2 separate regions of the Homo sapiens genome follow, and region 2 is linked to region 1. Evidence: promoter capture Hi-C in 16 types of primary human blood cells and fetal thymus (Javierre and others, 2016). All regions are on one chromosome and are shown on one strand. The core of a region is centred on a gene start or on the middle of the fragment in contact, and the rest is flanking DNA. Distances in the headings are between cores, read along the strand shown.

Evidence for each region. Contacts are between HindIII fragments. The CHiCAGO score rates a contact against its expected background, and 5 or more counts as called.
Region 2: a fragment that was not itself captured here is called in contact with the fragment with the promoter of MED4-AS1 in region 1 in 3 of 17 cell types (total B cells, fetal thymus and naive B cells); the score reaches 7.0 in total B cells.

Annotation. Positions count from the first base shown.
Region 1 is chr13:48,074,277-48,078,455 of GRCh38, forward strand. MED4-AS1 (MED4 antisense RNA 1) reads left to right here and starts at 2,861. Exons shown (of 3, transcript NR_046511.1): 1 at 2,861-3,075; 2 at 3,166-3,277. It overlaps MED4 (mediator complex subunit 4), which reads right to left. Exons shown (of 7, transcript NM_014166.4): 7 at 1,448-3,035. The coding sequence ends at 2,863. The HindIII fragment of the contact is 10,244 bases long and covers 1-4,179 here.
Region 2 is chr13:48,761,264-48,765,702 of GRCh38, forward strand. No RefSeq gene overlaps it. Among named protein-coding and RNA genes, the nearest start is that of CYSLTR2, 110 kb to the left of the region's middle. The HindIII fragment of the contact is 413 bases long and covers 1,586-1,998 here.

The DNA of each region.
Region 1 (4,179 bases), core at 1,611-4,110:
ACCTCAGAATACATAATTCTTAGGCAGATCTCACTCTAGCTTCCCAAAGCGACAACTGCACAAAGTTATACCAAGATCAAAAACTGGTACTTCTGAGCCCAGCATGGTGGCCTGTAATCCCAGAACTCTGAGAGGCTAAGGCAAGAGGATTGCCTGAGGCCATGAGTTCATGAACAGCCTGAGCAACAAAGTAAGACCTCATCTCTGGAAAAACAAAGAAACAAACAAACAAAACAGGCACTTTTGGGCTAGATTTGTCCCACAGTTTATATAATCTAATTTTAAAAGCCTGGGCATACACTCTAGTTTTGGCCAAAATTTCTACCACTCCCTGTTAAGTAATATCTAGCCAACTCCTTACATTTGTGTGAGTGGCCTCGTCTCTGAAGATAAATTTGAGTTTATGACCTTTTATAGACATCATTTCCAGAGGCAGTTATTTTAAGGGCATCTACTGGGACACACACAAAAACCTTTAAAAAAATTTTTCAGGCTGGGCGCAGTGGCTCACACCTGTAATCCCAACACTTTGGGAGGCTGAGGAGGGTGGATCACGAGGTCAGGAGATCAAGACCATCCTGGCTAACATGGTGAAACCCCGTCTCTACTAAAAATACAAAAAAATTAGCCAGGCGTGGTGGTGGGCACCTGTAGTCCCAGCTACTCAGGAGGCTAAGGCAGGAGAATGGCGTGAACCCAGGAGGTGGAGCTTGCAGTGAGCCGAGATAGAGCCACTGCACTCCAGGCTGGGTGACAGAGCAAGACTCCGTCTCCAAAAAAAAAAAAATTCAGAAATATATAGACTTATGATATTGACTTAGTACTGATAGAATGTATATTTGTGTAATTTTCAGGGGAAAAGTTTGGATTATTTCTGATAGGCTGGATAATGACCCCCTTTCCCCAAAGATGTCTAAATCCCAATCTACAGAACCTATGAATGTTGTTTTGTTACATGGCAAGGAAGAATTAAGGTTGCAAACAGAATAAAGGTTGCTAATCATCTCACTTTAAATAAGAAGATTATTCTGGGTTATCCAGTGGGCTCAGAATGATCACAGGATCCTTTAAATATGGGACAGGTAGGCAGAAGAGCATCACAGTAATGCAGAATGAGAAACACTCACCAACCAGGGGCCTGGAGCAGGACCAAGGGCGGCCTCTAAAACCTGGAAGACACAGGGGACAGATTCTCCCCTATGGCCTCCAGGAAGGAATGCAGCCCTGCTCACACCTTGATTTTAGGTGAGACCCACTTCACATTTGTGATGTACAAAACTAAGATAAATTTGTGTTGTTTTGAGCCAAGTTTGTGGTAATTTGTTACGGCAGCAACTGAAAACTAATACAGTATTAAAGAATTTGAAAAACACAATCCTTTTGAATCTACCCTAAAGATTTGGTGATAAAAACAGGCAGTTACATTATGGCACATACCACAATAAAATTTTAGCCATTAAAGTAAATCTTTCAAGAATGTATACACATGGATCAATATTCCTAGTATACGGACAAGGCAAGGTTAAAATTAGATATTGTGTTAGTCCATTCCTAAAAATAACCCTGGAGGGAAAGACATTCAAACATTGTATGTCCTTAATTCTAGATGGTGAAAATATAAGATTAATCTCCTATTTTCCAATTTTTCTAGAGATCGAAAATAATCAAAAGGAAAAAATGATGGAAAAATGGAATTCTCAGTTCATTTGAAGAATACAGATTAGCAATTAAAAAATACAGCAGTATCTCAGGAAATAAACATTATTCTCATTTTACAAAAAAGTGTATGTGAACTTTAAAAAAATCTACACTACAATATGAATTGATATTATCTCTGGGTAGAATGCTAACAATTTTATTTTCTCCTTTACTGTATTCACTAAATGTTTCACATTAAATGTTGTATTACCTTTGAAATCAGAAGATACATTGTCTAAAACTGATACATCAAGAAATAGTTGTATAAGCATATTACCTAAACACAGAGGTTACCAACAGAAATTAAAAGTGGTTAAAAATGACTCCTGGGGAACTGTAAGAAGAGGAAGGTGAAGGGAAGAAATGGTTGCTTTCCATTCTAAATCTTCACACAATCTATTCTTAAAATCAGACAAGGCTGTGGTAAATTTTTTCAATTATTAAAAAAAATTATTTCTTCTAATAGGAATAGGCCTTTGAGAACCCTATTAATTGTAATAGGTTTCAATTCAGTTAGTCACTCAAGTATTATAAAATGCAACTGGATTTACAGAAATAATTTCCTACCTACACTGACAGTATATTTAAACTAAAAAAAAAGCATACAATGTACAAACAAATTTATTTACAAAAATTACAATTACAAACTGTACAAATTGAGACAATTTCCCATGCCTCCAACAGAAGCCAAGAGCCTTTACTGTCAAATGGCAGTTTTTGTTACTTTTAAATGACACACAAAAAGAAATATGATGCCTATTCAGTCATCCACTGCCAGTTTAAAAATGCTTTTCTAAATAATTCCAAGAAGCCTATTAGTGATATGTATATGGATAATTTCCCTCAACTCTATTTCTAGAATGGCTATGTACAAATCCAGCAAAACTGGAACAGAACAGGGTAAGAAAGCACATAGCAACTGCTTTTTCAACAGTAAATTTTGACTATTCCCCTAAATATCTACCTAGTGGCTTAAAACTAAAACTATGGTCTTTGGCTTTAAAAAGAAAGTCAAAAAATTTTGACTTTTAATGACTGCACAATTCTACCAAAGCCAGTGTTTACCTGGGTATTTTTTGTCACCTGTAGTTTACATTTCCCTGCTACTGTTAAAGAAACAGAATTCTACAGTATTCAATTCTGTATATTGTCTTTTAAGGTTTTTCAATCAGACTCACTACTACTGCTTGAGGAGTCCGTTGACATAATCTCTACATCATCTTCATTTTCTTTATTATGCCCAGGAGGTTCCAACAAAAAGTCACTACTATGATTTGGTGGTAACATATTCATCGACATGTCATTTGACTGCCATGGATACTGTGGAGCAAGGACATCTGGAGAAAAAAAGAAGCATAGATAAGAACAGCTCTATCTGTAATTAATCTAGTTCTTACTTTTCCCTTTATGCAACAATTTGAAGTATTTTTTTTAATTTTACTTTTTTCTCTTCTTTTTTTGACACAGGGTCTCATTCTGTCACCCAGGCTTGAGTGCAGTGGCACGAATACATCACTGAAGCCCTGACCTAGGCTCAAGCAATCCTCCTGCCTCAGCCTCCTGAGTAACTGGGTTACAGGTATGTGCCACCATGCTTGAGTACTTTTTAAAGTTTTTGTAGAGATGAGGTCTCACTATGTTAACCAGGCTGGTCTCCAACTCCTGGGCTCAAGCTATCCTGCTACCTCAGCCTCCCAAAGTGTTGGGATTACAGGCATAAGCTATTGTGCCAATTTTTTTAAGACTAGGAAAAAAATACACATTTAGCCAAATTAATAAAAATCAAATTTATCAAGGAAAAGTTGATATTTTAGCAACTGGGGACTTTTTTAAAAAAATCATACTACTCTGTAAGAAACTATTTAGTCAGTTGACATAATTTTTCTTTTGTAAGACATTTGTAATTACAAATTTTTCCTGTATCTATGTATCTATTATATGCATATATAATACATACTTATGTATACTAGGTTATGTAGATTATTCTACATATTATAAACAAGTAATAGGTACTTTAGTATTATAATAGATTTGAATGATTTCTTGATAGAGGAACTGCTATTGTAAGTGACTCTCATCAAAGAGAGGTTGATTAGCAATGTATGCATATGAAATACCTTAAAAAAGGGCCCAAGTTACATTTAAAGTCTGTATTTCTGAAGCAAAGGGACAGAGCACATAAACAGGTATAGTTCAAGACTCAAATAAAGAAGGCAGATTTTTAAAGGGTCAAAAGAAAGAGTTATGGTATTAACTAGAAAGGTATGCCAGTTAGCCTCAAATCTACCCTTCTCTCTGGCCCCTGAAACCATTTCTCCTTTGCCAGCTGCCACAATTAAGTTTTGTCAGTAGAGGGCACAGGTGGGACTCCACTAGCAAACAAGTTTCACTTCCTGGATCAGGTGGTTTTGTCTCCTTTACTGCTGTGATGCCTGGTTGGTGTGCAGGACATTAAGTGGTGTTCACCACAGCAACTTTCGG
Region 2 (4,439 bases), core at 542-3,041, 690 kb after region 1:
TGACATTGTAAATAGTGAGGTAAATAGTGAGGTACATTACTGGCCAATTTCATGTGCTATTTGAATACCTTTTTGCATGAAAATAAGAATTATGTAAAACAGAATCTTGTTTCTGTTCATCCTTCCTGCCCCATTCCCTTTGGTGCTTCTGTGGATGGGATGAGTCATTCTCGGCTACAACTGGACCAGAGAGTTTATTTTAAAATACACGACAAAAGTTGATTGTGCATTTTTTCTTCTGGCATTTCTTCATATTGGTTTCAGCCTGCTCATTTTCTACCATGTTTTTTTCCCTCTGCCTGGATATAAACTTTCCTGTTCCAGCAGCTGCTGGCAGATGCCTATAGTTTATAAAATAGTACAAAAGATGTAAGAACTATATCTGAGAATGGCCACTTTTAATGACAAATTAATTTGTGCTCTGGATAATTTTTTTTATTAAATGGGCACAGAGGAACAGGCTTTTCTGCCCACTAGGTGACTTACTCCTCTGTTTGCTGGAAGAATCATTGATCATCTGCTGTTATTAGCAGTATCCACCTAACCCAGCACCTGAGTACAACTTTTAGAAATGAGGTTAAATAATCTGATTCCGGAGAGACAAATCGTTTAGGGTCAATAGTGACAGATAGGACCTATTTTAATCTGATTCCAGAGAGACAAATTGTTTAGGATCAATAGTGACAGATAGGACCTATTTCCAGCCAGAAACCACAATTGTGATTTCCTCAGTACTCCCTTGAAAAAGTAACAAAGAGCAAACATGAACTAAGCATTTTCCAGACAGATTTGTAGAGCTGGGGTTATTTACAGCGTTCCAAGTTCCAGTCTGCAATGAACATTAATAATTCTTGATTTCTTTAGTGAGTCCAGTGCCCTTCTTTAGTGAGTCCAATGTCCATTTGAACCACAGGAGATGTCAGCCACAGGAGAGACTGTAAGAATGTCGGGCCAAATATTTTAGAGATGAAAGATTAATGCTCACCAGTGTTAGAACACTCCCAGCTCTTTCTATCTTTGCTTTTCCACCTGCTCTTCTTCCCTGCCTGGTGAACTCATCCTCATCCTTCAAGGTCCAGCTCAAGAGATACTTCTGTGAAGGTTCCTCTGACTTCTCATATCGGGAGATGAGAGCCCTGGACATAATGTTATTGTGTTTATTGTTCTCTTGAGGTCACTTAGCCATGGCCTAGCTTTCTCACTAGACTAAAAACCCCTTAAGGTGAGACTGTCTCTCTTATTTGTCCCTCTCTCACAGCCTATAGAAGTTCCTGATGACACATAGCTTGTACTCAATCAATAGATGGTGAATTCAGAAGCCTATGTAAATAACACTGGGGGGATAGACAGGAATCAGCATTTCTTAAGGATGCCCCATGTGTCCAGCACTTGCACATATTATCTCATTAAATCTTCTCAACAACCTTCCAAGATAAATATAAATATGATTATTGGGACTCAGAAGTAGTAAGGATCTTAATAAGACCCTTAGGTAATAAGAGACAGGGCTGAAAGTCAAACCTGGATCTCTTTGACTCCCAATCACATTCTCTCTCCACTCCACGGTAAGCTGAGTTACCTTAAAAGCTTCCTGTAAAAAAGAACAATATATTCATTTGCCTTAAATAGAACATGCTAACGAGCACAAATCACTTCATTTGGAAATTGCCATTCTGAAGATATTAACTTAATTTTAGTCTCTCATATGCAAAACTTTTGAAGAGTGTAAGTATCCTTAAGTGCACAGGGAAGTGGTTCTTTCAGGAAAAATTTGAGTATGGCCCATGCACATATTCAGTGTCATCATTAAATTAAAAGTATTAAGTGGTTTCATTACATAGGAATCCATGTCATGGTAAGTTTCTTTCAGAGGACCAGTTTAGAAATGCAGCCCAGGATGTGTCAGTACCTCTCAAAAGGAGAAACATCCTACAGTAATAATAACAAAGTGATCTCAACCTAGCAAAGATTATAATAGAATAGCCCCATTTATAGATAAGCTTAGATCTTAGAGAAGGAAGGTGAGGAGGAGTAGGAGTCACCTTTCATCAGCACTTACTATATGCCAGGGACTGTGCTAAGTATTACTGGCCTCAGCTCGATTCCCTGCAAGAACTCCATGACATAGACACTTATCCTCATTTTGAGTATAAAGAAGCAGGGGTTTAGGGAGGTTAAATGACTTCTCTTAGTCCCACTGCTTGTAAATGACTCTTGCAGTCTTAGACTGACACCAAAATTTAAGCTTCTCTACTAACACCAAAAGACAGTAAAAATAGTGGGGGTGTTAACTGTGACAGCCCTTTTAAAATACATTGTCAGCATCTATGAAAATTTAAATGTGCATACCCTACAACTCAAAAATTCTACTTCTTAGTGTTAGCTCAAGAAAAATTCTTGCACATGTGTACAAAATTGTTTGTGATAGCAGAAAACTGGAAACAATTTTTAGGTTTATGTCCTTCCAAAGGAAAATCACTTTAAAAAGTGATACTGTATCCATGCTATGGAATAATGCATACCTGTCAAGTTCTCAAAGACATAATGTTGCTGTAGAGGTAGCAGATGGTAGTATGATACAATAAAATACTACACAAAATCCACATCTTAAAACATTAGCATATATGCATATATGTATATTTGCAAAATTGATGGAAAGAGAATGGAAGGATACAGACCAATCTAATAGCAGTGGTTACCTTCATTGTTGGGGTAGGAAATGGACCAGGATTGCAGGGAGTGGGCAAAGGGAATTTGAGCCTTATTTGTAATGCAAAATGAATGCTTCCTTCCTCCTTTTCTCCCTCTCTTCTTCCTGGTTCAGTTTCAAACCTCATTCTACCATGAGCATATCTGATTGGCAGACTCTAACCCATATCCAGAAGCCTAACTACAAGGAAGTCTGGAAATGTCAGTTTTAGCTTTCTACCCTCCCCTTGCTATCATAGAAAAGGGTTGGGCTGCATGCTGAGCTCTCAATACACACAATAATAATTCAGGCAATAAATACTTTGGCCAAATTTCCAAATAAAATCAGGTTAAAGGAAAATGATAGAATTGTGAATCACATGGATTTTTATATAACTTCTTTCTCTATGAAGTCAACTATAATCTGAAACTGCAATGGTATAAGCACACAAGAGAAAGAAGCCATGCAAAAGATCTTGAACTTTTATGAACTCTGACATTTCTGTTATCCTCCCCAGGGTGCTACTCCTCTATCTAACCTGTTGAAAGACAGCCCCATGAAAGAAGCATCTATTTGGTGCTATTATAAGTGAATTGTTTTCATAATTCATTTAAGTTATTTAAAAATGTATCTAGAAATGCAACTGATTTTTGTGCATCAGCTTTGTATCCTGCCACTTTCTTGAAATCGTTTATTAGCCCTAGCAGTTTTTTGGTGGAATCTTTTGGGATTTCTACAGATAAAATTATATCATCTGTGAATAGATCATGTGACTTCTTCCTTCCAATTTGTATGCCTTCAGTTTAATTTAATTTTTGTCTAATTGCTCTGACTAGAACTCCCAGTATTATGTTGAATAGTAATGGTGAGAGTGGGTATCCTTGTCTTATTCTTTATCTTAGATGAAAAGCCTTCAGTCTTTTCCTATTGAGTATGATGGTCTACAGCCATACCACCCTGAACATGCCTGACCTCATCTGATCTCAGAAGCTAAGAAAGGTCGGGCCTGGTTAGTACTTGGATGGGAGTATAATGTTAGCTGTGGGCTTTTCATATATGGATTTTATTATATTGTTTATTATATATATTGAAGGTAGTTTTCTTCTCTTCCTAGTTTGTTCAGTGTTATTATCATAAAAGGGCATTGAATTTTGTCAAATGCTTTTTCTGAATTGATTGAGATGATAATGTGATTTTGTCCTTCAATTTGTTAATGTGGTATATTTCATTGATTGATTTTTATATGGTGAACCATCCTTGCATTCCAGGTATAAGTGCCACTTAGTCATGGTGCATGACCCTTTTAATGTGCTGTTGAATTCAGTTTACCGGTATTTCTTTGAGGATTTTTGCACTGATATTCATCAAGAATGTTAGTCTGTAATTTTCTTTTCTTGTTTTTAATATCTTTGTCCACGGTGTCAGAGTAATATTAGCCTAATATAATGAGTTTGGAAGTGTTACCTCCTCTTCAATTCTTTAGAAGAGTTTGAGAAGGATTGATAAGTTTTAAAGAATGTATGGTAGAATTCTTCAGTGAAGCCACTAGTCCTGGGTTTGTTTGTTTGTTTGGAGGTTTGGAGGTTTTTGACTAGTGCTTCAATCTCCTTGCTAGTTATAAGCCTGTCCAGATATTTTATTTCTTCAGGATTCAGTCTTGGTAGGTTGTGTCTAGCAATTTATCCATTTCTGCTAGGTTATACAACTTATTGGGTGTAATTGTTCATAGTAGTCTTTTGTAATCCTTTTA